Linked DNA regions of Homo sapiens: all the other regions are linked to region 2. Evidence: promoter capture Hi-C in 16 types of primary human blood cells and fetal thymus (Javierre and others, 2016). All regions are on one chromosome and are shown on one strand. Each heading gives the region's core, a stretch centred on a gene start or on the middle of the fragment in contact. The rest is flanking DNA. Distances are from core to core; before and after follow the strand shown. Region 1 holds the start of LOC124902690 (a long non-coding RNA gene). Region 2 holds the start of NRXN2 (neurexin 2). Region 3 has its middle 35 kb from the start of SLC22A11. Region 4 has its middle 13 kb from the start of SLC22A11.

Region 1 (6,279 bases), core at 3,152-5,651, 220 kb after region 2:
CCGGGTGAGACAGAACGCTCACACTGTAAATTAAGAAAAGCAACTTTATTATTCGCGGATCGGCATCAGGGGACAGCAGGAGCCTAGGGTCCCTGCTCCCCGACAAGGCTCAGGCAAGCTGGCCAGGGTGGGTAGAGTCCATCTGCACATGCCCTAGGCAGCACCACAGCCAAGGGACGCCAAAAGATGCTCCACTCTAGGTTTTATACCTAGGGGAAGTTGACTCACTGAGCACAAGTGTTGCAGGACATCTTGTTCTAGGAGGGACAGGGAGAGACCTTGGACTGTTCCAGCCAGTTCCTTCTTATCTCAAGTTGTTGCACTCCCAGCACAATCAACAGTTATTCTGAAAATGACAAGCAAGAAAGTGGGGAAGAGCTGGGTGGCCAAGGCCATCTGGGATTTGTCCTGCATGGCTACTGTCCTTCCCATTTGTCCTGCAAACACTTTAATAAATCCTTTGCACATGAGTCCTATCTCCTGGTTTGCCTCTGTGACAATCTAAAAACCCCTCATCTGATCTATTACCAAATCTTATGCTCTGTCTCTGAGATATTTCTTGAATCTGTCCACTTCTTCCCATCTCCATGGCCAGCACCCTGATGCAGAGAACTATCAGTGAACAACTGCCATGGCCTCCTCAAGGGTCTCACTGACTTCTCTCTTCCTCCTCCACATTCCCCACTGAATCATGCCACTCCCTGAAAGAAACCACTGCTCTCACTGTAGGTCAGCCAGGATGGTCTGCCTAGGTTCCTCTGATACCCCCTCTGCCATGGCAGTATCTGGCCTGTCACAGTCATTGCAGCATCCCCTGGCTCAGTGCCTGGAAAGAATGAATTCAGTCTAAATGACCCTTAAAGAAGTACCCTTTAATTCCCTCTAAAGCTGAGGGGGCCGGAGCCTGCATAGAGGGTCAGTGCAGAGTAGGCCAGCCACCAGGCCAGCTTCCTTGGAGTGCATGACCCCCTGGTCCATATTTGGTTGAAAGAGGAGGGTGATGTGATGGTTAAGTTTATGTGTCAACTTGACTGGGCCACAGGATGCCCAGGTAGCTGGCTAAGCGTCATTTCCGGGTGTTTACATAAAGGTGTTTCCAGAAGAGATGAGCATTTGAATCGGTGGGCTGAGGATAGCAGATAGTCTCCCTAATGTGGGCGGGCAACATGCAACCTGTTAAGGGCCTGATGAGAACAAAAAGGCAAAGGAAGGTTGAATTCCCTCCCTGCCTGACTGCTCGAGCATCAATCTTCTGTCCTTGGTGCTCCTGGTTCTCATACCTTCAGACTCAGACTGGAATCTGCACCATTGACCATCAAGCTCTCAGGCCTTCGAACTACACCACCAGCTCTCCTGGGTCTCCAGCTTCTGGGTTTCCAGCTCTACCAGGTCTCCAGCTTCTGGGACTTCAGCTCTCCTGGGTCTCTAGCTCTCCTGGGTCTCTGGCACTCCTGGGTCTCCAGCTTCTGGGTTTCAAGCTCTACCAGGTCTCCAGCTTCTGGGTTTTCAGCTCTTCTGGGTCTCCCACTCTTCAGGGTCTCCAGCTTTCCTGGGTCTCCAGCTTGCAAACAACAGACTGTGGGACCTCTTGGCCTCCATAATCACATGAGCCAGTACCTTCTAATACATCTTTCAGCTAGATGATAGGCAGTTAGATAGAGATACAGATCTAGATCATACATATAGATATTGCGATAGTTAATTTTTGGTGTCAACCTGACAAAATTATGAAATATGAAACAGCTGGTAAAGCATAATTTCTGGGTATGTCTGGGGATGTTTCTGGAAGAGACTTGCATTTGAATCAGTAAGCTGAGTAAGGAACATCCACCCTTACTCAGTGTGCAGGGAGCACCATCCACTTGGCTGAAGGCCAGGACAGACAAAAAGGCTTGGGAGGGCTCAATTTGCTCGCTCTCTTTCTCCTGGAACTGGGACATCCTTCTTCTCCTGCCCTTGAACATCACAACTCTAGGTTCTCTGACCTTTGGACTCTGAGACTTGCACCAGCAGATCCCCGTTTCTCAGGCCTCTGGCTCCTACTGAAAGTTACCCCATTGGCCCCCTGGTTCTCAGACCTTTGTGCCTGGACTGAGTCACGCTACCAGCTTCCCTGCTTCTCCTGTTTGCAGATGGCATATTGCAGGGCTTCTCAACTTTTGATTACCTGAGCCAGTTCCCCTAATAACGCTCCTCTCATATCTATCTATCTATCTATCATCTATCTATCTATTTTTATCCATCTATCCCTCTATATATATTATGTACACATCTATCATCTATCTATATCCCATTGGTTCTGTTTCTCTGGAAAATCCTGATTAATATAGACATAGACATAGACGCAGACATAGACACTGACACAGACACAGATAGACACAGACACAGACACAGACAGACACAGACACAGACATAGACACAGACACAGACCTAGATGCAGACGCAGATGCAGACAAACGCAGACGCAGACACAGACACAGACGCAGACAGATACAGACGCAGACACAGACACAGACAGACACAGACACAGACCCAGACCTAGATGCAGACGCAGATGCAGACGCAGACAGACGCAGACGCAGACAGACGCAGACGCAGACACAGACACAGACACAGACACAGACCCAGATCCAGACGCGGACGCAGACGCAGACAGACACAAACGCACATGCAGACGCAGGTGCAGGCGCAGAGGCAGACATAGACAGAGATGGAGACGCAGACACAGACATAGACATACACACAGATCTCCCATGTTGGTTCTGTTTCTCTGGAGAACTGTAATGTGATGGGGAAGGTCCATTAAGCCCCTGAAAATTGCATGCAACATTTCACCTGCATGTACACTCTGTGTCTTCTACTGTCCAATAGCTTCCATCAGGTCTTCAAAGGGCTCACAATCTTCCATATAAAAGGAAGTAATTCACATTGGAGAGGGTCAAGAAAAATGTCCCATCATGTGTTGGCCAGTATTGATCTCTAGGCAGAGAAATTAGAATGTTATTTGATATATTTGGTTTTTAGTTATTTATTCATTTATTCAACTAAAATGTAGTGACCACTAAAACATGCCTGGCTCTGTGGTGTTCACTGCAATTGAGACTATGAGCTCTGGTGTCAGACTGCCTGGGTTCAAATCCTGGCACTGACATTTACTGGCTGTGTGATCTTAGGCGAGTTGCTTAGCCTTTCTGTGCCTAGGGTTCCTCATTTGTAAAATGGGTTTATTAAAACTTTCTCCAAGGGTTGTTGGAAAAATGTAAAGTACTTGAAACAATGTCTGGCGCAGAGTAAGTACTCAATAAATATCAGCCAGGCTTCATTAATTTAATTCATCAAGTAAAAATGTACTGAGCACCTGGTATATGACAGGCACTGTTCCAGGTGCTTGGGATATGCCTGTGAAGAAAATGGTAAAAATCTCTATGCCCGTGCAGCTGACGTAGACATAGACACAGACATAGACACAGTCCAATCGGGGAGACAGGAATAGAAAATAACCATAATCCAGAAGTAAATTACCTAGCTTGCAGGAAGGTGGTAAATGCTATAGGAATAAGACTAAGCAGAGTAACCGGGAGGGGGATCAGGAGTGGTCGGAAGTGCAATTACAAGTGGGGCGGTCAAGGTCAGTGTCGTCAAGAAGGTCGTGTATGAGTAAAGACTCAGTGGTGAGGGAGTCAGCCATACAGATTCTGGGAATATGCATTCCAGCAGAGGAAAGAGCCAGTGCAAAGGTCGCAAGGTGGGAGGTGTGGTCGATGAAAAGCAGGAGGACAGATGGGAGGTGGCAGAGTCATGGGTAGTAGGAGGAGACGAGGTTAGCATTCCACACCCCAGTGCACTGGACAGATAGCAAAACGGAAACAAAGATAGAATTGACTTTTTCCCTTTTTATATGTTTTCCAAATTTTCTTTAATAGGCATTTTTAAGCTGGGCAAGGTGGCTCACTCCTATAATCCCAATACTTTCAGAGGCTGAAGCGAGAGGATCGCTTGAGGTCAGGAGTTCAAGACCAGCCTGGGCAACAGAGGGAGACCCCTGTCTCTACAAAAAAGTTTAAAAATTAGCCAGTCATAGTGGAGCATGTCTGTGGTCCCAGCTATTTGTGAGGCTGAGGTGGGAGGATGGCTTGAGCCTGGGAGTTTGAGGCTGCAGTGAACCAAGATTTTGCCCCGGTACTCCAGCCTGGGTGACAGAGTAAGACCCTGTTTCAAAAAAGAAAAAAAATTTATATATATATATGTCAAAGCTTGGTACGGAAATCTTTTTGCAATAAAAGAAGTTTTGGAGTTGTGGAACAAAACTTTCAATATCCTCTAATATCGTCCTTCACTTTAGCCTTTTCAGGAATTTAGGATCTGGGACACAGGGCATTATGTGGTGGGGGCTCCTGAGCAGCACAGGCTTCTGTCCTCTCTCCCTTACCCACAAGCAGGCCCAGCCGGCCCCGGGAGCCTTTAGGGCAAGGGTCCCCAGCCCCTGGGCCACAGACTGGTACCAGGCCACACAGCAGGAGACGAGCGGCTGGGGAGCTAGTGAAGCTTCATCTGTTCTTACGGCCGCTTCCCCGTTGCTCACGTGACCACCAGAGCGCCACTCAGGTCAGATTAGTGCCGGCGTTAGATTCTCACAGGAGCACGAACTCTGCTGTGAACCCCGCATGCAAGGGATCTAGGCTGTGCGCTCTTTATGAGAACCTGATGCCTGATGATCTGTCGCCGCCGTCGCATTGCAGGAAAACAAGGTCAGGGCTCCTACTGATTCTACATTATGGTGAGGGGTATAATTACTTCCTTATATATTACAACGTAATAATAATAGAAATAAAGTGCACAATAAATGAAATGCCCTTGAATCATCCTGAAACCACCCCCACCCCCATCCCCCACCATCTGGAAAATTTGCCTTCCTCCAAACCAGTCCCTGGTGCTAGAAATGTTGGGGAGCGCCGCTTTAAGAGCCTCACAAGAGATCAGTCTTGAAGACGCAGTTGGGGTCACGTGACCCGAGTCCGCCCATCACAGGGCTGGCCCCGGGTGCCATTTTGAGAGCGTGCTCCTTCCTTAACTCCTCCTGGTGGGGCTAGAATTTGGTGGATTGGGTGTTTATTTGATGAGGTCGCAGCATTTGGGTCTAATTTAAAACTTAGGATGTTCTTTAAATGTTTCATTTCTTCTTTGGTTCATTTCCATGATGCTATGCCACCAAAGGGGAGCCTCTAAGGGATTTTCCTTCCAAAATGTTGTATTTTGCTGGAATTTTGCAATTTCTTTGTTAAAGAATCCACCCACTCTTCCATTGCTCTGCATTCTTTCTGAAAGGACGTATACCTTGTGCGTCCAGTGAGACCTGAATCATTGTTAAAGTTGGCCAGAGACCAACAGCCTCAGGGGTGAGTATAGCTTGGGCACCCGCCCCCCCACCCAAAGCTCTGAAGACAGAGTGGGAGCTTCTTGTGGCCGCCCCCACCCCAACCGTCCTTCCTTTGTGGCGTCCTTCTGGTTTATTCTTCCACACACAGCACTTGTTCTTTCCTGTGACTGTTGGGACACTCGTAACCGTTTATTTCCTTGTTTATTATCTCTCTCCCCCACACACCCAGGCTGTACACTCTAGGAGGGCAGGACCCCATCCTCTGCTCCCCACACTGTGCACCGTGCCAGGCCTTTGCTATGGGTGTGTTTTATGAACAAATAAAGCGCATCTTCTCTCACTGGGGAAAGGTGAGGAAGCGATTCTTCCGCCTTTAATGGGGCCCTTCTCAGCCTTTCTCCCTTCACATTCTTCTTCAGCGAGCTGGGGAGACACCTGACCATAGACGGGGCTAAGATTCCCCATTCCAGGAGCTACTAAAGCCATCCCCAGGGTCGTGTTTGAAGAAAAAGCCAATGAGGACTGTTCTTTCCAAGGCTGTGGCCCACAGGGGTGGTGAGGCCAGCAGGCAGTCAGAGGAACAAGTGTCCACCCACAGTGCCAGCCCCAGCCCACACCCTAAACCAGGAGCCCTCAACACGGGCAGAACCCGGAATAGGTTTGGAGACTTCTGGAGGCATTTTGTATCACAGTGACTGGGTGAGGACACTGTTGGCATCCGCAAAAACTGGGGTGGGGACTTAAAATGTTCCACAGTGGGCAAGGTGGTCCCACACCACCAAGATTCATCCATATCCCGCACAACTTCTGAATGTCCACTGGACTGCATTTAAAATCATTTTAAATCATTTTAAAGTTATTCTGAAATGCTAAAGAAGTCTCATAATTTCAAAATTAAATTT
Region 2 (6,306 bases), core at 997-3,496:
ATGTGTGTGCATGGACATGCATGCTGTATCTGCTGTGTTTCCCCTCCCCCATGTGTCCCCACTGGCCTTTGCACATGGGAGAAGGGCATGTGCTCAGCATATCACTCAACTGTCCACATTGGGTGGGTACCTGTGTGTGGTGTGTGTGTGTGTGGGGTGTGTCTTGAAGTGGCAGGTCCCAAATGCTTAGGCAATCTGAACCTTGGACCTTGCAGAGAGGAGAGATGTCCCTGTAGGTGGGAGGGACAGGGAGATGCAGCAGCTGCCCGGTGACCTTTTCTGCCCTTGATGGGCAAAGCTGGGGGTAGGGAAAGGAGACAAGTGCTCATACTTACCTCCCTCCCTGCCCAGGCTCCTCTGTAAGGGTCTGAGTCTGTCTCTGTGAGCCATTGCATCTGTCTGTCTATGCCCTGATGCCTGGATGGACAAGGGGTGTGTGTGTGTGTGTGTGTGTGTGTGAGTGTGAGGAGGCTGCAGGAAGAGGAACAGTGGGGGATGGGCAGGAAAGTGGGCTGTGGGGTCAGGGAGGCGATTTCGCATTCATAGGCCCTGACGCAGCAGTTCCATTCTCTGGCTCCTTCATTGGCTTTGGTGGGGATGCCCTGGGGGTCTCTCCAAGGTCAGAGTGGGCCCTAAGTCTGGGACCTGGCTTAGGGATCACCCTTCTCGACTCCTAGGAAAAACTCCTTGCAGCCTGGGTCCCCCTCTTACCCCTTCACAGGCTGGGGAAGGAGTTTCCCACCCGGGGGGTTGGTGTCCGCATTAAGCCACTCAGTAATTGACCACTCTCTTTGAAGTGCCTGGGCAGGGGTCCAGGATGACTGTGGGCAGGTCCCCTGGGTGCAGCTGTTCTGGGCATGCATTAATTGCCTGGTGTAGGTACCTGTGTGCACAAGTGTGTGTGTTCTTGGGCAGTATATGCTTCCTGTGGGTGTGTTACCATGGTGGGGCATTTCTGCAGGTGTTCTTATGTGTCTCTGGGAATGCCCAGTGTTCACAGATATGTGTGCATGGCTGTGAGTGCCCCAATGTCCATGCATTGGTGGTTGAATGTAAGTGTTCTTGCATGTTGCCTCTGGCTAAGGAAGTGCCAACTACCACCAGCTGTGCAGATCACAGACCCTGCAACAGAAACCAGGGTCCTGGAGTGAGCTGGCAGAATGGTCTGGCACACATACACACACACACTCTGTCTCTCACTGTCTCATTCAGCAGCCCAGTGACCAACCTCGGGGTATACACACTAAGTGCCAGTGTGTGTACACTTTTATTGGCGGAGTGAGTGAAGGGTGTCCCCCAGTCCCCCACACTCATACACATGCACAGTGATGCATGTACCCTTACAGGAGAGACCTGCGCCCCCCAGCACCACTCTAACTGAAACTCATGGATGGGAGGAGGAGAACAGAGAAGGGGGCTGCTGCCAGGTGCCCTCAGTCACCAGGCATGTGCAGGCGCAACCCTGCCCCCACACCTACTCGTACCTCGGTCCAGGGTTCCAGGCAGAACTGAGAGTTTGGCCTCAAACTCTGGGATTCCCATGAGGCAGGACTGGGAAACCCCCAAGTTCCTAGGTCTACCCCGCCCCCATCTCTGCCTTTCCTTCCCCCACCGCCTCCGTCTTTATCCCAGCAAAGCCCCTTCCTCTTCAGTTCTGGGGGCTCCAAGCCAGGGGCCCTCCGGACGGTGGGAGGTGGGGGCCAGGCTACCGACTGGAAAAAGCCCCCAGCAGCCATGGACCCACCGAGTCCCCCTTCTCTAGGCTCCTCGAAGCCCGGGCCCGCCCCTGGGGGTAGCCAGCAGAGGGCGCTGCGGCCCAGGCCCCGCATCAGCCCTGCTCTCGCGGCGTCCCAAGTCGGGGTCCACAGCCTCTCCTTCGGCTTGTCCCAGCCCCGCGCTGCGCGAAGACCTGCTGGCCGTGGGGGGAGGGTGCGGGACCCAAGGCCCCGAACTAAGGGGCGAGGGGCGAGGGGCGAGAGTGCTTGGGTTCCCGGAAAAGACACTGAGGCCGGGTTTGGGGCCCGCCTGGTTGGGGGCCCGGGCGCCCGAGAACCTCGAGAGGCTGGGAGGAGCGCGGGTGCTGGGGCCGGGACGCCTGGGTCCCGCGCGAGGGAGGGAGTGGGCCTGTGGAGCCGCTGGACTGGCGGCTTCTGAGCCCTTGCATTGGCTGCGCTGCTCGCCCGTCAGCGCAGCGTGGTCCAATGCGCGCGTCTCGGGGGCGGGCACTGGTGCTGATGCTGCCGTCAGTCGGTGTTGCAGGGATGCGGCGGCGGGAGCAGCCGCCCTGACTCGCGGAGCATCCTCCTCGGAGAGGCACCGCGGCGGGGCGGGCGGGCGGGCGGGGACGCGGCGGGGAGGGAGAGAGGCGCGAGGCGGCAGACACCGCTAGCCCTGGCTCTGCCACCCGTCGGAGACGGGGCGGCCCTGTAGCTCTGCTACCCACCCTCCAGCTTCTGGCGCCCCGAGAACCAGGTAAAATGGGGGGGGGGGGGCGCTGCGGCGGAGACGGGCGGGGGGCGGGAGCCGATCGGGGGAGGGGAGCGGATCGGAGGGGGCGAGGGAGGCAGGACGGATGAATTGGGGGGCGGGGGCGCCGCGCTGAGAGGGCTGGCCCGGTGACAGCGAGGAGGCAAAGCCGCTGGGGGCTTGGGGGTCGGAGGCTCCTGTGGAAGGGGCACTGGCCCTGAGAGCTGAGGAGAATGGGGAGGGGTGGGAGGAAGGGTCTTTGGGGGAAGGGATGGAGAGAGGAGGGGCATCCAGAGGACTTAGAGGGGGTTCTTAAAGGGGGGTCCCCAGTCTGTGCTAGCCCCAGAGGCTTGAAGCAGCGCCGGGCCAGAGGAGCTGTTGTGTTCTGGAGGGTCTAACCAGCGAGAAACTGGGCTTCGTGGGAGGAGAGGAGAGGGGGCTGGAGAAGAGAGAGAAGTGGAGAGGGAAGGAAAGGGGCCAGGCCAAGGGCTTCGTCCTGAGGGGACCCACTGAGGACCAGGCTTTCCTGGGGGATGGGAGCCAAGGGGAGAAGAGGTTATTGGGAGAGAGCAGAGGGGAATGTGCCAAGGTGCTCCAGGCAGAGATGGGTCTGTGCTGGTGGAGAGCTGGGAAAGATGGGGTCTGAGGGAGAGGAGCGGAAGCTTGCGGGGGAAGGCTGGGGGTGATGAGACAGGGAGACTGGGAAATCAGTAGGAGGGGGCTTTGCTGGGGTGGGAATGCGCTGGGGGCGGTGACAGGGTTCTGGTCAGAGAGTGCTGCAGGGGGAGAGGAAGCTGCAGGGCCCTTGGCTTGCTCCCCCACCCCTAAAGAGGAAGGGACCATTTCTCATGTCCCAGCCTCCTCCCCCAGCTGAAGCAGCAATCTTCCCTGGGGTCTTTGGGTTGGGGTATGAGCCCTTGAACCCTTGATGGGCTTTTGGGGCACAATTGGCTTTGGGGTGCTGTTGTCTCCTTTACTCTCACCCCCCTCCTGAATCTTGGGAGAGGGCATTCGATGCCTCATTGAGCTAGCAAGGGCTGGGAGGGGCTTTTTCTTGGTGTCTGGAGGTGAAGGAGGAGGCTGTCCACCTGGAATAATGAAATAGATTTTTAGGGGGTGGGTCTTGGGTCCCCAGTCCCTTGGCTGCCCTGGGGGCTTCCAGATAGCCCTGTTTTTTCATGTGTTGGCGGGTGGGCGTCTCTCCTCTTCCATTCATTCTTATCCTTCCCTGTTGTCTACCTTCCCAGTGTCTGGGTGTTCCTTTTGGAGGAGGGTGGACATTAGGGTCTTACTTTCTCTGTCTTCTGCCAGAGAAGGAGAAAGAAAGAAGGGAGAGGGAAGGAGAAGGGGAGGGAGGTCTGCAGTCTGCTAACTGTGAGGCCTTCTGTTTTGTGGGTGCTTCAGCCCCTCAGTCCCTACCTCCTCTTGCTTCCAGGGATGGCTCTAGGGATGCTGGCATCTGAGGTGTGGCTGGATCTTTTGGGAGACAGGGGAGAAGGGTCTGGCTGGGGGCTCTTCATTCATGCTAGAGGAAGTGTTCTCAGACCCATCCTATCCTCAGATCCACAGGGGTGGGCGGGATGGACCAACCAGCCACGGCTGCCGGGCAGTTCTTTCCAGCCCAGGCCTGGGCTGAATCCATATGACATTGGAGTTCTGAGAGGAGGGGCTGGGTGCGCGAGTGGCTGGTGGGGACCCCTCTTTCCTTCCAGGCTCAGTCACTACCCAGGTCCAGCTGCTCCCTCCCGCTTACCCTTGCCAGTGACACAGACACTCTGACAATGATACACGCGCTCGGTGGCACCCACCCAGACACACACCTACACAGGCACACACACCTGCGTACACAATACACCTCCTGGCAGCATACAGCCCACACTCCCCACCCAGAGAGGCTGCCACCTCATGCCTGCCTCCTTGAGACCTCCCCCAGGTGCCTTGCTGCCATGTACACAACACACACACGGCCACTACGTGCCCCCAGAGCCCCCAGCGCAGCACTGCCAGCCCTCACCCTTGGATGCACACAGCCCCCATCCAACCACTCACCTCCCCAGGCTCACAGCCATCGCAGGCACACCTGTGCTTCTTCCTCATACACCTTCAGTCCTTGCAACACACCCTCTCCTTCCAGACACCCCATCCCTCCCAGGTCTACACAGCATGTGGGCACACCCTCCCAGACACACCAGTCCCTGCCCCCCAGCAAGCTCATCCTGAAGTACCATGTGCATGTCTGTCTGGGTGCTGAACACCTTGCCCCAGGCCTTTGTGTGTGTGCACGTGTGTGTGCACACCAGCACATGTTTGCTAACACACTTAATGCTGTGGCTCACCCCCTAAACCTCTCTTCTACTTTCTCTCTCTCTCACTCACTTATCTTTGTACCTTCGGCGCAGGGCCTCCTACCCCTCCTGGCCACAACCACGACCCTTCCCAGTGGAGTCCAGCCCCCACCTACACCTGGTTTCCCTGGGAGCCTTCCCATTTCTAAGTGGCCCCACCCCCCGCATTAATCCTCAGGCACAAGGGCCCCTACACCTGCCTGTGCACTGGAGACACTGTCCTTTCATTCGCAGCTCCCAAGCCCAGCCCCCACGGGGATGCCCCGATTGTGTGTCCTCACACGCCACCCACCTTGCTGCTCCATCTGTTGGTGCAGCTCCCTCGCCCCTGCCCCTTCCACACTGATGGGCCTGTGGGCTCTCGGAGACTCATTCAACAAATAGTCTGGTGCACACTTTCAAGGATGTGTGTGGCACCTTGTTATTTACGAAGCTGCTTCCCCACTGCCACCACCACTGTTTGGCATGGTGGGGTGAGGGTGAAGGTGGGACTCCGCTGTGCTCCTCAGTGAGCCTCAGTTTCCTCACGTGTGAAATGGGATCCTCATCCCTACCTAGTGGGATGTTATGAGGACTCACTGAGAGGACAATGATGGCAATGATAGTAGTAACAAGCATGTTTATTGTGTACCTACTGTGTGCCTGGCCTTGTGCGAAGCACTCTGTAAACCTTACTTTGAGGTATTTGTAAGACACATAGAAGGTCCCCGTAAATGGTAGCTATTTTTATTGTCATTATCATAACCTTCCCTGCACGCACACACACGCGCACACACCTGTCATAGATACCTTTAGGAACATTCCCAGGCACCTCATGCTTACTCACAAGGCCGCCCCTGGAAGCCATCTGTCCCCCTCTGCATCACTGGGGTGCACCCGCCCAGGCTGCTGTGCCCCAGCTGTGCACAGCATAGGTAAGCTTGGTGCTCATCCCTCCCACCACCTACCTCCATGCTCCCATGCACCTGTCCTCCGGCCCCCACTCCACCAAGTCATTCCATTGCACCTCTGTCCCCAGCCCACCCGCTTCCCCAGCTCCATGAGGCGGCAGCAGCCTCATCCTGTGCACCCCGAGCTACCAGCTCCTGGGCCCAGCCCGCTCCATGCTTCTCTCCATGACACAGAGAGCTGCTTGGCGACCTGCAGACATGGCCGCTCATGCCCAGCCCACCCTGGCATGGGACTCCGACTTATCTTTAGACCTGTTTGTTCCTTCTACTGCCCTCTGAGTCAGGACAATTGACCAGCAGAGTTGAGGAGGACACGAGGGATAGGGATTAGACAGAACCAAATCTGAATCCCAGCTCTGCCATTTATGATTTGTGGGACCTTGGGTGGGTCCCTTCTCCCCTTTGAGTATCTATTTCCTCATCTGTAAAAGGGGCAGTGATAATACTTGTCTTGCTTACTTTTCTCACCAAGCCCTGGTGAGGATCAGAGGAAACACTAGGCACTCGGTACTGCAAACTGTAAAAGGCCGAGATGAGAAGTTTTA
Region 3 (6,938 bases), core at 3,024-5,523, 200 kb after region 2:
GGCAGAATTGATTGCATCATTGGCCATTGGTGATTAACTCAACCTTCGGCCCCTCTCCGCTCCCTGGAGGTTGGGAGGTGGGGCTGGCTAGTCCTGCCTTGGTCTTTCTGGTGACCAGTCCCATCCTAAGGCTACCTAGGGGCCCCCAACCACCAGTCATCTGATGAGCATACTAAAGGCACTCTTACCACGCCAGAGATTCCAAGGGTTTTAGAGGCTGTGTGCCAAGAACCAGGAGCAGAGACCAAATATAGATTTCTTATGGTATGGTAATATCACAAGTGTCATTCTGTATACCACCCTCTGCCACCCACCTCACTCAGTTGGGCTCCCTGAGGCACATTGTGCTCTCCACCTTCTCCTGTGGGGTCAAGTGGGGTGTGGTTTAAATGGATCATCCAGTCCTGCTGGGGGAGGTTGGGTGTGTCACACCCCCCACAGGCGGAATGCAAGCCCTGTGTGAAAACAGCCACATCCAGGAATTCTAGCTTTGGTTTGGTTTTTCCTGCACAAGTACCCCTGAGGCACAATATTCTCTCAGGGCACTGCAATGCTACAGCGGTTCAGACTGGAGCTCCTGCCTTCACACCCAGCCCAAGGTAATCACGATTGCTCTAAGTCACTCAGGACAGTCCAGTTACCCACTTTTCCAGCTTTCCCTACAATTGGAGGAAGCAGAATACACCTTGGCTCTGGCCAGCAAGGCATGAACAGAAGTCGGCTGGGGCTCTAGGAAACCTCGCCCTCCCGATGAAAGGGCAGATGCTGCTGGCACACTTCGCTCCGTTGTCCCAAGAGCAGAGGAGAGGCCTGGTGCTACAGTGGCCATCTGTACCCAGGAGGTGACAGACATGGTTATGGCATGGATGGAAAGAGAGAAGGGGAGGGTGTGGTCCCTGGTGGCACCATTAGGTGACTGAACCAATGCCAGAAATTGTCCATTCTGGATTCACAGTTACACATGAAAAAGTGACCCACCACCTGTCTAAGGCGTAGCTGGTTTGGGGTTCTTTTTCTCCTACTTGCAGCCAAACACACTCCTACTGATTCCATGCATGGATGAACAGCCGGTCAGTGGAACAGAACCGCCTGCCCAGAAATAATGGATGTGTCATACTCAGTGGGCAAGAGCAGGAGCGTCTTCAGAAGTAGAACCAGGACTATTCACTGGCCATATGGGGGAGGAAAGTTGGATTCATATCTCACTCCACACACAAAAATAGATTGCACATGTGTCAAAGGAGGGGAAAAATGAACTGCAAAGACCTAGAAGAAAACAAAACTAAATATTTATAAATAGATATAATAAATAAAGATAAAGTACCAATCAAAAGCAGACTACATGGGCGTTAGGAGGGCACAGTAGGATGTGCCCTGCCCCACATCACAGTGATTTTATCCTACATTAATATGACCCTCCCACTACAAATTTCTACCTGCTCCCAACTCCCAAATTAATTCCCCCAAAGTTCCGGGGGTGGAAAGAGGCAAGAAGTACTTTAATTGTTTGGAACATGCTAGCACGGAAACCACAGTTCAATTTGTTCTGCAACAGCAAATGACTTTTTTTGTGACAGAAGCTAAAAGCAAAGAGAAACCACAAGGAGTTCTGCTTCCTACCATATCAAGGACTTAATATTATGAAAATAATAGCAACAACAACGAAAACGAAGCCTGTAAACATGCTAGATTAAATGCCACAGACATTCTTTGAAATGCATAGCTGGGCTTGCAAGAACGTAAAAGTACTCCATGGAACAAACAGGGAAATGGAAGAGAAAGCCTGGGCAATTAGGAGCAAATGGTTTTTGTGGAATTGAACAGAGGTCTTGGTTTTAAGATCCCCATGGGGATGGGAAATAAGGCCTGGAGCCCACGGGAAGGGAGGAGATGAAATGACAGCCCCCTCCTACCTGTAAGCCTGGAACCCTTGAGAGGCTGCTTCCTTCATGAAAGGTGGGCTAGAACAATCCCACCTACAGCAGATGGTCAAGTCTCTGCATGGCCAGCTGGGAAGGCTTGCCCGGCTGTGGCCAAATACGAGAGAAGAGACTACGGAGAAGACGAGAGGGAAGAGAGGGAGGGGAACTGCAGGTTCCTGCTAACGTGCACCTACAAACCTGGGAGCACATGCCTGGGGGTGGATGGAGTGTGCTGGGCAAGATTAGGGGTGGAATAGTAGGCCAGGAGGGGGAGAATTTACCAATGAAGGGGCACCGTCCCGTGACTCAGGAGTCTTCATCATGACAAGGGCAGCTTGAGCTGTGCCTAATGCTTTACTAGGCTGCCATCTTGAGATTTAGCAACAATGGCCTGCAGTAGATGAGGAAGAAATGCTGGAGTTACCTTGGCAGATTTTGATCAAGAAAGGGATCAAGTGGCTCAGAAGGTGCACGTGTTACAATGAAGTTATGATGGAAGACTGGAGAACTTACTCCCTGTGTATGTTCCCAGGGAGCGCCAGAGGACTCTGCTTGTGAAGACTGTAAGACATGCACCAGTGAAGGAAGCCCCGGCGGCGTTGCCAAATCCGGTTGTGGTCATCATCTGCAGTACAGGATTGATGACGGGAGGCTGCTATAGAACTGGCCTCCCTAGTGTCCACGGAGAAGAGAGGATCCCAAAACGGCAGAGACCATGTAGCACTCTTAACCCTCAGAGGCAAGATGATGCCATTACCAAAATGTGCAATGAGGGTGGAAAGGTCACCAGGAGCCTGACATTCAGGGCTCTGTGGTAACGAATAATAGGCTGTGTTCTGGCCGGGCGCAGTGGCTCATGTCTGTAATTCCAGCACTTTGGGAGGCAGAGGCGGGCAGATCATGAGGTCAAGAGATCGAGACCATCCTGGCCAACATGGTGAAACCCCATCTCTACTAAAAATACAAAAATTTCCTGAGCGTGGTGGTGCATGTCTGTAATCCTAGCTACTCGGGAGGCTGAGGCAGGAGAATCGCTCGAACCCGGGAGGTGGAGGTTGCAGTGAGCTGAGATTGCGCCACTGCACTCCAGCCTGGCGACAGAGCGAGACTCCATCTAAAAAATAAAACAAAACAAAAAAAGACTGTGTTCTCTCTAGAGGCAGGGTAGGTGGGCAGCCAGTGTGCTTATTTGACTTATGTAACCAAAAAAGGATAAGAATGTGTGAGCAGAAGGCTGAGGCCAGCCACTTCAATGGAAACATTATTATCTCTTCGCCAACTTCTAGGTTCGTGCTAGTTCTCAGACTCAGAGCCTGCGGATTGAAGGGAAGAAAGGTCCTCTTGAGGAAGGATCCTGAAAGCCCACACAGTAGGATTCTCCCAATCCCTCTGCTCTGCTTATTTATCAGAATAGCTTTTATAGTGGGGAAGGAGGATGCCCAGATTTCTCAAGGACTGATGGATACGTGTCAGAATTGACACTGGTCCCAGAGAACCCAAAATACCATCGTGACCGCCCCCATTAGAGTGGGGTCTACAGAAGCCACGTGATAAATGAAGTTCTGGCCCAAGTCTACCTTTCAGGAAGCCAGTGAGTCTGGAGAACCATCTATGGCCATTTCTTTAGTCTCTGAGCACATGTTTAGGCTGGAGACACTTACAAGATGGAAAATCAGAAGCAATACTAAGTCTGAGCATCATGACAGAGATGAGTGTCACCCTTATTCACTTAGAGGATGCAGAGAATGTGGTCCCTAATATATCCCTCTTTAATTCACCAGTATGGCCCTTGAAAAAGTCATCTGAATTGTAGCAGATGATGATGGACTCTTGTAAACCCAACCGCATGGGAGCCCCAAGTGCTGCTGTTGTGCCATGTACAATGTCTTCAGTAGAACAGATCAGCACAGCCTTGGAATTCGGTGTAAAGCTGTTGATCTGGTGTGTGTACCCTCTCAAACCCTATCAGGAAGATGTATCTAAACTGATTTGCACTTACCTGGAATAGCAGCAGTACACATTTACAGGGACCTTAATCATCTGGACATCCCACAGAACATCACATAGGGATGCTACACTGAAGATGCCATGCTAATCAGACCTGGTAAGCAGGAAGTGGAACATACCCTACATGCCCTTGTAAGGCACCCATGCATTGCAGAGAGTGGGGGATAAGCCCTAGAGTGGTTCAGGGGTCTGCTATCTCAATAAAGATCCAGGGGTCCATCCTGGGTAATATAGCAAGACCCCATGTCTAAAAAAAATTTTTTAAGTAGCTGGGCGTGGTGGTGCACACCTGTGGTTCCAGCTACTTGGGAGGCTGAGGCAGGAGGATCACTTGAGCCCAGGAGGTCAAGACCAGCTTGGACAACATAGAGAGACCCCAATTCTACGAAAAATTTTTAAAATTAGCTGGGCATGGTAGCGTGCACCTGTGATCCCAGCTACTCCAGAGGCTGAGGTGGGAGGATCCCTTGAGCCTGGGAAGTCGAGGCTGTAGTAAGCTATGATCACGCCAATGCACTCCAGCCTGGGGAGCAGAGCAAGACTCAAAAAAAACAAAAAAATCCAGTGGTGTGGGTCATTCTGAGACATTCCCTTCAAAGTAAAGGATGAGTTACGTCATCTTGTATTTTCCACCACTAAGGAAAAGGCACAGACCTTGGTAAGCCTCTTGGGACTTTGGAGATGATCTCTTGTCATGGCACACTTGGGAATACTGCTCCAACCTCTTTATGAGATGACTTGGAGACTGCCGGTTTTGTTGGATCTGAGAGCAAGAAATGTCTCTCTCTCTAGAAGGTTCAGGTGCCAGATAAGTAACTCTGCCACTTGGGCTGCATCTTTTCACATCCTGCGGTGCCAGAGCTGCCCGTGGCAGAGAGGGATGCTGTGGAAAGCCTGGAAAGCATCTGGAAAGAATAGATAGGGGATTCACGGTGTGGACGCAAGAACCAGGCAATACTGTCAGCAGCAGAGAATTGGTCACCACTGAAAAGTAGTTCATAGACAGACACTCATGCCTGGCACAGGACAACAGTGACTCCGTGGTAGAGCTGCCCATCTTGAGCTGGGCATCACCAGGCTTGCCAAGCCGGAGTGTTTGGCCGTAATGAAAACAATCCACTGAATGATGAAAATGGAACAGTCAGGAACATGCCTGAGCAGGTCCTAATGGTATAAACAGGTTACACAAACAGGTGGCCCAGACCCCATGTCACCCATCTCTGGCATCCCTGCCTCTCTCAGCTCACACCTCACCTGGCTAACAGAGGCTGGGATCCTCTGGGTCTCATTCATTGGCTTGATATATTGGAGCAAATAAAAAACTTGATATATTGGCTTGATATATTGGAGCAAATAAAAAATGGATGCTGCCTCACTCCAAGCCGATCCAGCCAGCAGAGCTTCAGGCAAGCACCTGGTTATCCACTTAGGTAAGGATGTACACAGACTCTGGGCAATGGTAACTGATTGGGCTGGTTCGTCAGAGACTTGGAAGGAACGAGATTGGAAGATCAGAAAAAAATGGCCTGGGAAAGAGTGATGGGAATGAGCAAATGGGAGTGAGCACATTGTCTTACGTCAACACCACCGCTGGCCCCCTGAAATTATCAACTGCAGATGAAGCACTGAAGAACCAGATAGAAAAGGTGACTCAGCCAGCAGAGCTCAACCAGCCTCTGCCCACAGCCACCTCTGCACTTGCACAATGAGTGTGTGCAAGGAGTCGCCACGGTGGTGGGTTGGGAGACCGTGCATGGGTTCACTCCATCTGTGCCTGGAGTCCGGCTCACAAAGGCTGATCCAGCTTCGGCTAAACACCTGCGTGTTCAGGAGCAGAGACTAACGCTAGGCCCTCATTATGGTGTTGTCCCTGGAGGAGACCAACTCGCTATGTGACAGCAGCTTGGTTGCATTTAATCCCCCTACACTGGAGGGAGCAGCAAGCCCTCTGGACCAGAATTGACCCCTACTCCAGGTAGGATTTTACCTTGCCTGACTGCAGGGCTCCAGCTAGTACTCTGGACTCATGTGAGTCTGCGGACTCACGGGGTGTCTAATTTGCCATTATGGGATTGCAAATAACATGGCCTTGAACTGAGAGAATCAAATTACAGCAAAATAGTTGTGATGATGGGCAGGACAAGAGGACCCACTAGGGTCTCCATCTAAGCATCTGCCGGCTGGGTGGAATGTTTGGGGAAGAAACCAGTTTGGGGAAGACACCCTAGGGCACTGGGACACTGAGTTGGAAGGTGCGATCTATACTCTGAACCAATGGCCACCCCATGGTGTGTGTCCCTTATAGTGAGAGGACCCAAGGGGTGAAAGTAGGGGTGGAAGTAGGGGCGGAAGCTCTCACCATCATCCGCAGGACTCCCTGGCGAATTTGTTTCCCATCTCCACGACTTCAAGCTCTGCTTGGACTAGGGGTGTTATTTCCCACTGGGGAAGGGGAATGCTTCAATGGGGACATGTTAAGGACTCCAGTTAGTAGGTGGCATTTGGTGAGGGTGGTTGTATGCTGCCATGTAATAGGAGCAGGAAGGACTTTGTCTGAAGACTGAGGAATTCGCTGCAGCCCCTCCTGGTGCTTGGTATGGTAATAAGTCTGAACGGGCAACTGCAGCAGCCATGGCCTCGCCAGGTGTGGTGACCAGGGGCTCAGACACCTCAGGGATGAAGTCTGCATCACCCCACCAGGCAAGCCACCAAGACCAGCAGAAGTACAGGCCCAGGGTGCAGGGAATCCAGAATAGTTGGTAGAGGAAAGAGATAATGAATGTCAGGTATGGCCCTGGGACCCACTGAGGCGGCAGGGACTGCACTTCGTCCTGCTAATATTCCGGTTGTATTATTTTTTCTTTTTTTGAGAAAGGGTCTCACTCTGTCGCCCAGGCTGCAGGAATGCAGTGGCACAATCACAGCTCACTGCAGCCTCCACCTACTGTGCTCAAGTGATCCTCTCACCTCAGCCTCCCAAGTAGCTGGGACTACAGGTGTGCACCACCA
Region 4 (6,994 bases), core at 2,504-5,003, 180 kb after region 2:
GGGGTTGGGACAGGGCCTCTTTCAGAGGCCTCCGGAGCAGCAGTTCCTGGTGGGTTCCCACAGGTGCCCCCAGCACCCACAGGACAGCATCAGGACATGGCAGGAAGCTGGGGCTTCCCTCTACCCTTGCTACTCAAAGTGTGGTCCATGGACCAGCAGCATCAATGTCACTTGTGAGTTCTTTAGAAAGGCAGAATCTCAGATCCCAACCCAGACCTCCAGAATCAGAATCTGCATTTACTAAGAGCCCCAAGTGATCTGTGTGCCCACTGAAGTTTAAGACGCCCTGGCCTTGACCATTCTCCACAGCCACGACTATTCCACACCTTCTATCTCCTCGGAAGGGGTTTCCAAGAGGGACTTTATGTTTATTTCCATGGCAGCCTCTCCGTCGAAATATAAGCTCCTTGCAGATGGGAACGCATATCACTAAACCCCTTGGTGCCTGAGCCCTGCCTGCACACTGGAGGTGCCTACTCAGTGCTTGCTGAATAAGCGAGGGGATGTGTGTCACCATGCAGGCTGGCAGCGCGCCATGGCCAAGTCCATTCCTATCCTCTGCATCATCAGGCAATGGAGCAAGGAACGGAGTGGCACGTGAGAGCAAACAGACGTGCCGCCCCTGCCACAGCGCACTAGGATTTGTTCTTTGCGCAGACAACTGGAGAGGCAGAAGCCTGGGGGCATACGTTCTCCCCAGCCCCCCTTCCCACTCTTCCTGACATATGCGCCCTTGCCCTGGCGGCAGGTAGACTTCAGACCCTTCTCTTCATTGGTCTCAACCTAGCTACAGACTGAGTTCACTCAGCCACTTCTTTGCCAACTAAGGATCCTGCCCTTAAGGAACCTACTGGGTGACATCGCCCAAGAGGTGCAAGAACCCGAAGCTCTGGGTCACACAGGTCTCCTGGGTCAAACAGCTCTCTGTTTTCCCAGGGACATGGAGGGGCTCACGGTTCAGGATGGCTAGTGGGGCACTCATTTACCTCCTCCAACCAAATCCAAGTGGATCCAGAAAGGAAATAGTTTGGCAGTCCCAGAGCAGCATGGGAAAGGTGAGAAATGGAAAACTAGGGAAAGAATCTGCATAAGACATAAAGATCATGGGACAGATGGACAATGAAACCTCAGACCAAGGGACCTGCACCACATGCAGGAGGGAAAGGAGGCCCAAACACCTGAGCCTTCCTAGGAGGACAGCACTAGGTGAGAGGCTGCAGTGTGGGCACAGGCCAAGAACATCTGGGTAATTAACAGCATCAGGGTGAGCAGATTGACTGTGCCCCACCCTCCCTCCACCAAACACCACTTGGCATTGAATTCCATGTTTGCCTGGAGGTCAAGGTGCAAGAACAGCTAAATGGAGTTCTGAAACTGCATGGTAGGCCAGAGAAAAAGGGCAGCACCCCAGGCAACTTAAGGATCCCATGGGGAAGCAGAACCCTTTACTCAGAAAATCAGATCCACCAGTGCCTCCTGGCCACAGGCCTCTTTCACTTGCCCACACGTCACAATCACTGTAGACAGGGTTCTCCAGCACAAAGCTTTCATGCATGGCTAAGCCAACAGGAATTCCCACTTAGCCTGAGGAAGGACATTCTAGGAAACAATTTTGTCCATATCCCTCCCCCCACCATCTTCAAATATGAAGAGGCAACAAAGAAACACTAAAAATGCAAGAATCCAATGCACCAAAAGAGAGACACCAAACTCAACAAACAAAAGAACCAACACAGGAGGACGATGAAGTAATGCAGTAAACAGAAGAAAAAGGTAAAACCGCTGTAGTTTCTATTTCCAGGGAAATTTGAGAGGACATCAATTTTTTAAAAGAAATAGGTTCCCGAGAAAAGGAAATCTTTTCAGTTTTGGAAATTGTCAACTTGATGGGCAAATTCTGAAACCACTAATTAATAGATTGAATAATGAGGGGAATACAGTGACCTGGAAGTTCATGACAAAGGAGTTTCCTGGAACCCAGTGCAAAAGCACAAAGAGTTGAAAAGGAAGAAAAGAAAGGACCTCTGAGCTGAAGAAGATGGAAACGTTTAGACTGCAACATCCCAGTAGCTTTGGGTAGCAAGGATGAAAAATTGGCACATGCCTGGTGAAATGTCTAAACTCCAAGAATGGAGGTAGGTTTGTACATTAAATGTCCACCATAACTCTTGCAATTTATAGGTTACCTTGGCCTTCATTCATCTTTTTCCTTCCCTTCCCTTCCCTTTCCTCTCTCTCTCTCTTTCTTCCTTCCTTCCTTTCTTTCTCTCTTTCTTTTTCTCTTTTTTCTTTCTTTTTCTTTTCTTTTTTCTTTCTTTCCCCTCCCTTCCTTTCTCTCTCTTTCTTTCTTTTTCTTTCTTTCTCTCTTTTTTCTCTTTCTTTTCTTTTTTCTTTCTTTCCCCTCCCTTCCTTTCTCTCTCTTTCTTTCCCCTCCTTTCCTTTTCTTTCTTTCTTTCTTTCCTTTCTTTCTTTCTTTCCCCTCCCTTCCTTTCTCTCTCTTTCTTTCTTTCTTTCTTTCTTCTTTCTTCCTTTCTTTCTTTCTGACAGGGTCTTACTCTGTTGCCCAGGCTGGAGTGCAGTGGTGCCATCATGGCTCACTGCAGCCTCAAACTCCTGGGTTCAAGCAATCCTCCTGCCTCAGCCTCCCTAGTAGCTGGGACTACAGATGCAGCCACCATGCCCAGCTAATTAAAAAAAAAAAATAATAGAGATTGGGTCTTACTATGTTTCCCACGCTGGTCTGCAACTCCTGGGCTCAAGTAATCCTCTCTCCTTGGCCTCCCAAAGTGCTAGGATTGCAGGTGTGAGCCACTGTGCCCAGTCTCATTCATTATTTCAATCAGCAGATCTTTATTGACAGCCTGAGAGCTCTGCCAATTCCTATGCAGGTAAAGGAGAATAAAATAGACATAGACCCTGACTTCAAAAGCCCCATCTAACCGGGGAACAGATGAGAAAACAGGCAACTGTACAGTGGCCGAAACACTGGCACAGAGTCCAGCTCTGCCTGTTACCAGCTCAGTAACTTCGGGCAAGTGACTGACCCTCTCTGTGCCTCACTTTCCTTCCATGTAAAATGTATAATAGTAGTTCCTGTCTCGTAGGTCGTTTTGAAGGTGTAAGTAGAGCACTTAGGACAGTGACTACACACAGTAAAAGGAAGCACTAAATAAGAATTGGATAAATATGGAAAGACCGTGGTAAATGTTAACCACCAGGGATGTGGGAGTGTAACAGCAGTGCCTGACCCTCCTCGAGGGGTCCAGAGAGCTGCCCGGCCGGGCTTGGGCATCATCGTGCTGTAAGGAGCTTCCAGACCCGGGTTCACTTGAGCGGCCGCTGCCGCCTCCCCGGGCCCGGGGCCTCCGCTGTCCGCCCGGTGCATGTGAAGGACATCAGGCTGCTGCCCCGGGCCCTCGGCTTGTCGATTCCTGTCCGGGTAATGCTGACAAGGACTGCGGTGTCACCAGGGCCCGGAGGAAGCTGTCCCAGCACGCCAGGGATTTCACAAGCGATTAGGTATTTCTGCTCATCCACACCCTGATTTCTTCTTAGCATATCACCCTTTCTCAGCCCCCAACGCCTCAGGCCAGGGCCAATTGGTGGGCGGGGAGGGCCCTGACAGATGAAAATGACGGGGTGTGGGGGCTGCTGTGTCCTTCTGGAAGGGCGGCAGGGGAGGTGGCCGTGAGGTGGGCTGGGACAAGGGGGTTCGGGCCATGCTCCCTTCTTGGGGTCTGCCCTCAGGGACACGGGGGGTGGGGAGCAGAAGTGCCACCTCTGCATGGGGGTCCTGGAGGCAGGGAGATTTGAATCTAGGTTTCTATGAGGCCCTAGGAGGACAGACACAATGTTCACTCAATGATTCTCTTCTTCCCTTGAAGGATTCTTTTACGGAAGCAGGAGCGGGGAGAGCCACAGTGATGCCATTTTAAATTCGGCTCCATTTCGACACAAACAGGGACATTCTTTGCCGGTCGTGACTCAGTCATAAGATAATTACATCTAGGGACACAGCCTGAAGATACCTGCAAGGACATGCTCCTACAACAGCAGAAAGTCCAGATGTCCCAATGCCCATAACAATATATGCTTTCAAAAAATTATAGTTATGCTTTGATGTACTCACACACGAAGATGTCAAGGATAGCTTTCTTAAATAAATAGAATAATTATTGTTGTCATGCTGTCAGCCCAGCCACACGTAGGCACAGCTTAGTTTAGTCTTTACACAGATAAGACCCCTGTATAAGAGAAACTTAAGGACGGGGCGGTCCTCTGCTTGCTTTCTGAGGGTGCTCTACTCTGGAATGGAGGAGGGGTTTTTTTGTTTGTTTTTGTTTTTGTTTTTTGTTTTTTGTGTTTTTTTGAGACAGAGTCTCACTCTGTCGCCCAGGCTGGAGTGCAGTGGCACGACCTCTGCCCACTGCAACCTCTGCCTCCAAGGTTCAAGTGATTCTCCTGCCTCAGCTTCCTGAGTAGTTGGGATTACAAGCACGCGAGCCACTAGCCCAGCTAATTTTTGTATTTTTAGTAGAAATGGGGTCTCACCATGTTGGCCAGGCTGGTCTTGAACTCCTGAACTCAAGTGATCCACCCGCCTCGGCCTCCCAAAGTTCTGCGATTACAGGTGTGAGCCACCACGCCAGGCTGGGAATGGAGGAGTTTTAATAAACTTGCTTCTTTCACTGCACTCTGTGACTTGCCTTGAATTCCTTCCTGTGTGAGATCCAAGAACCCTTGCTTAGGGTCTTGATCAAGACCCCTTTTCTATTATAGTCACAGTTCCACTTCCTGACTTCCTCCTGCTTCTAGAACGATGAATATGGAAGGCAGATGCTCCTCTTGAGGGGTTGGACATGTGGTCGGGAGACCTGCAGCCAGGGCGGCATAGGGACTGGCAGCCAATGAACCCAAGTGCCAGACGGGTCCCATCGTGCATAGGATGACCTGACACCTCTGGCCACTGAGGCCTTGGGTCAGTGACTTTGGCCCCTAGGCAGGGCACCCTGCAGAGTAGGGGCCTCCAGCTGTTCACAACGCGGGCAGAACAGAACCTGGAGCCGAGGGGACAGCTTGACCCCAGAGCCTTTTGGGAGACTGAGGACAGGACGTCCCAGCCCAGCAGGACCCGGGCACCTCTGGGCTCTCTCTGTCGCCACCAGGGAGCCCTCTCCCTTGGAACTTTGTCCCTAGGACCTTGTCTTCTCGTTTCTTCATCATCGACCCTTTCCCTAGGACCTTGCTCACCGTCCTCTGAGTCCTGGGTAGTGTCAGTTCCAGGCAGAAGGAGAAAATCCCCCAGGCTGGCCATGCCCAGGAGGATGGGGTCAGTGATGGGAGGGAGTGGGGTGAAATGTTCTTTAGGGGTCCTCAGATCTTCAGAACCGGGGGTGAGTTTATATCTGACCCCTCCTCTGCCACTGTCCTGAAAGGAGGGTGGGTGCCTTCTCCAAATGCCCGGTCCTGGAGGGAAGCCTGGTGGCGCCTGTTATCACATTTAGTGACCAACACTCCCCTAACTCTGCCCTGGAAGGACAATAACAGTCACACTTCGTGCTTCAGCTTCCCTGGCCTGGGGACACCAGTCACAGCAGCGGCCACCCTAGTCTCAGGAGAGGATTTCCACCCCCAAGGATGTTGAGTCTCCCTCGGTGCCCACACAGCAGGGGCCCTGGTGGAGGCTGCGGCCCCCATGGCAGCAAATGACAAAACAACTCTAAGAGGCTCCAAGGCACCAGCACCAGGCAGGGCCAGGCCTGTGTTTCCTGCAGGGCACACGTTGAAAAGGTGACCCAGGGACACAACCGCAGCACCGACAATTGCCCTGCAGGGCGTAAGGGCTGAGACGCTGGGACCCCGGTGGGAGCTCATAGCACAGACCCTGGGCCAGGCAGCCACGTTCAAACCCTGGCTCTGCCACTCACCGGCTGGGCAGACTCAGAGCAGCTTGCTAAGCTTACTGTGCCTCAGTTTCCTAATCTGTAAGATGGGAACATTGGACTGATGGCATAGTTGTGAGGATGAAGTGAGGCCACATCAGAAAAGCACTTAGGGGAGTACCCGGCCACAAAGGAAGTGCCATGTGTATGCTTAATCAACTCACATCTGTTCTGGGGTTCCCAAATCCTCCAGGCCACCATAGCCTGAGAACAAGACACAGTCACAAAATAATGCATCCCTGACCCAGCAGGTGATCCTTGTCTTGCCTCAGAGCAGCATTTTCCAAACCTGTGTCATTTACATACCTTTGTGACTCCTGCCATATCTTCAGATCACATGTACTATTATCTAATTCATGGTTTTCTCTCGGCGAACTGACTTCTAAATCATTTATGTGCCCCAGAATGTCTACAGCAACGACCACAACTGGAAAACCAGGATCACTCGCCACAAATAGAAGAAAACTGTAAAAATATCCTGTGCAAATGAAACAAATGTGACAGTTCTGGCTGGGTACCTTCGCCTGCCAAGGGAGCTGAGCTGAGGCCAGCATTCTTTGTTTTTAAGAATAAGGCATTGCTAGTCCCAGGAGGCAGATTCTCCTGCTCGAGTGACTTAAGGGGGCTGAAAGAAAATTGCAAAGGGGGCCAGGCATGATGGCTCACACCTGTAATCCCCCCACTTTGGGAGGCCGAGGTGGCAGGATTGCTTGAGCCGAGGAGTTCAAGACCAGCCTGGGCGACATAGCAAGACCTCATCTCAAAAAAAAAGAAAAAAAGAAAGAAAGAAAATTGAAAAGAGACTAAGCATCCTGCTGTGTGAAGGCACATTGAACTCCTCTTCTACCGCTGCTCAGAGGATCCCTGCCCCACAGGGCTATGTGGGGAACCCAGTCTGTCAGTAAAGAACGTTTGCTGAGCCCACTGCAGCCAGGCCCTGGGTCAGGCCACACCTCACCTGATGAGGGCAGGGCTTTTACCCAGAGGAGAGGCCGGGGCAGATGGGGGCTTCCTGGGGGCCTCTGGCTACAGGCCCAGCCTCCTGCTGCCTC

The links. The method cuts DNA at HindIII sites, captures the fragments that hold promoters and counts their contacts. A CHiCAGO score of 5 or more calls a contact.
Region 1: a fragment that was not itself captured here is called in contact with the fragment with the promoter of NRXN2 in region 2 in 4 of 17 cell types (M1 macrophages, M0 macrophages, megakaryocytes and 1 more); the score reaches 8.4 in M1 macrophages.
Region 3: a fragment that was not itself captured here is called in contact with the fragment with the promoter of NRXN2 in region 2 in 1 of 17 cell types (M0 macrophages); the score reaches 5.7 in M0 macrophages.
Region 4: a fragment that was not itself captured here is called in contact with the fragment with the promoter of NRXN2 in region 2 in 1 of 17 cell types (M0 macrophages); the score reaches 7.3 in M0 macrophages.

What each region holds. Positions count from the first base shown.
Region 1 is chr11:64,499,138-64,505,416 of GRCh38, reverse strand. LOC124902690 (a long non-coding RNA gene) reads left to right here and starts at 4,523. Exons shown (of 2, transcript XR_007062721.1): 1 at 4,523-5,396. The HindIII fragment of the contact is 292 bases long and covers 4,256-4,547 here.
Region 2 is chr11:64,719,137-64,725,442 of GRCh38, reverse strand. It overlaps NRXN2 (neurexin 2), which reads left to right and starts at 2,246. Exons shown (of 23, transcript NM_015080.4): 1 at 2,246-2,472. RefSeq lists enhancers at 1-146, 1,356-1,405 and silencers at 1,786-2,085, 2,072-2,366. The HindIII fragment of the contact is 9,459 bases long and covers 1-3,130 here.
Region 3 is chr11:64,517,810-64,524,747 of GRCh38, reverse strand. No RefSeq gene overlaps it. Among named protein-coding and RNA genes, the nearest start is that of SLC22A11, 35 kb to the left of the region's middle. RefSeq lists a silencer at 1,035-1,235. The HindIII fragment of the contact is 8,566 bases long and covers 1-6,938 here.
Region 4 is chr11:64,539,381-64,546,374 of GRCh38, reverse strand. No RefSeq gene overlaps it. Among named protein-coding and RNA genes, the nearest start is that of SLC22A11, 13 kb to the left of the region's middle. RefSeq lists an enhancer at 5,853-6,391. The HindIII fragment of the contact is 4,414 bases long and covers 1,547-5,960 here.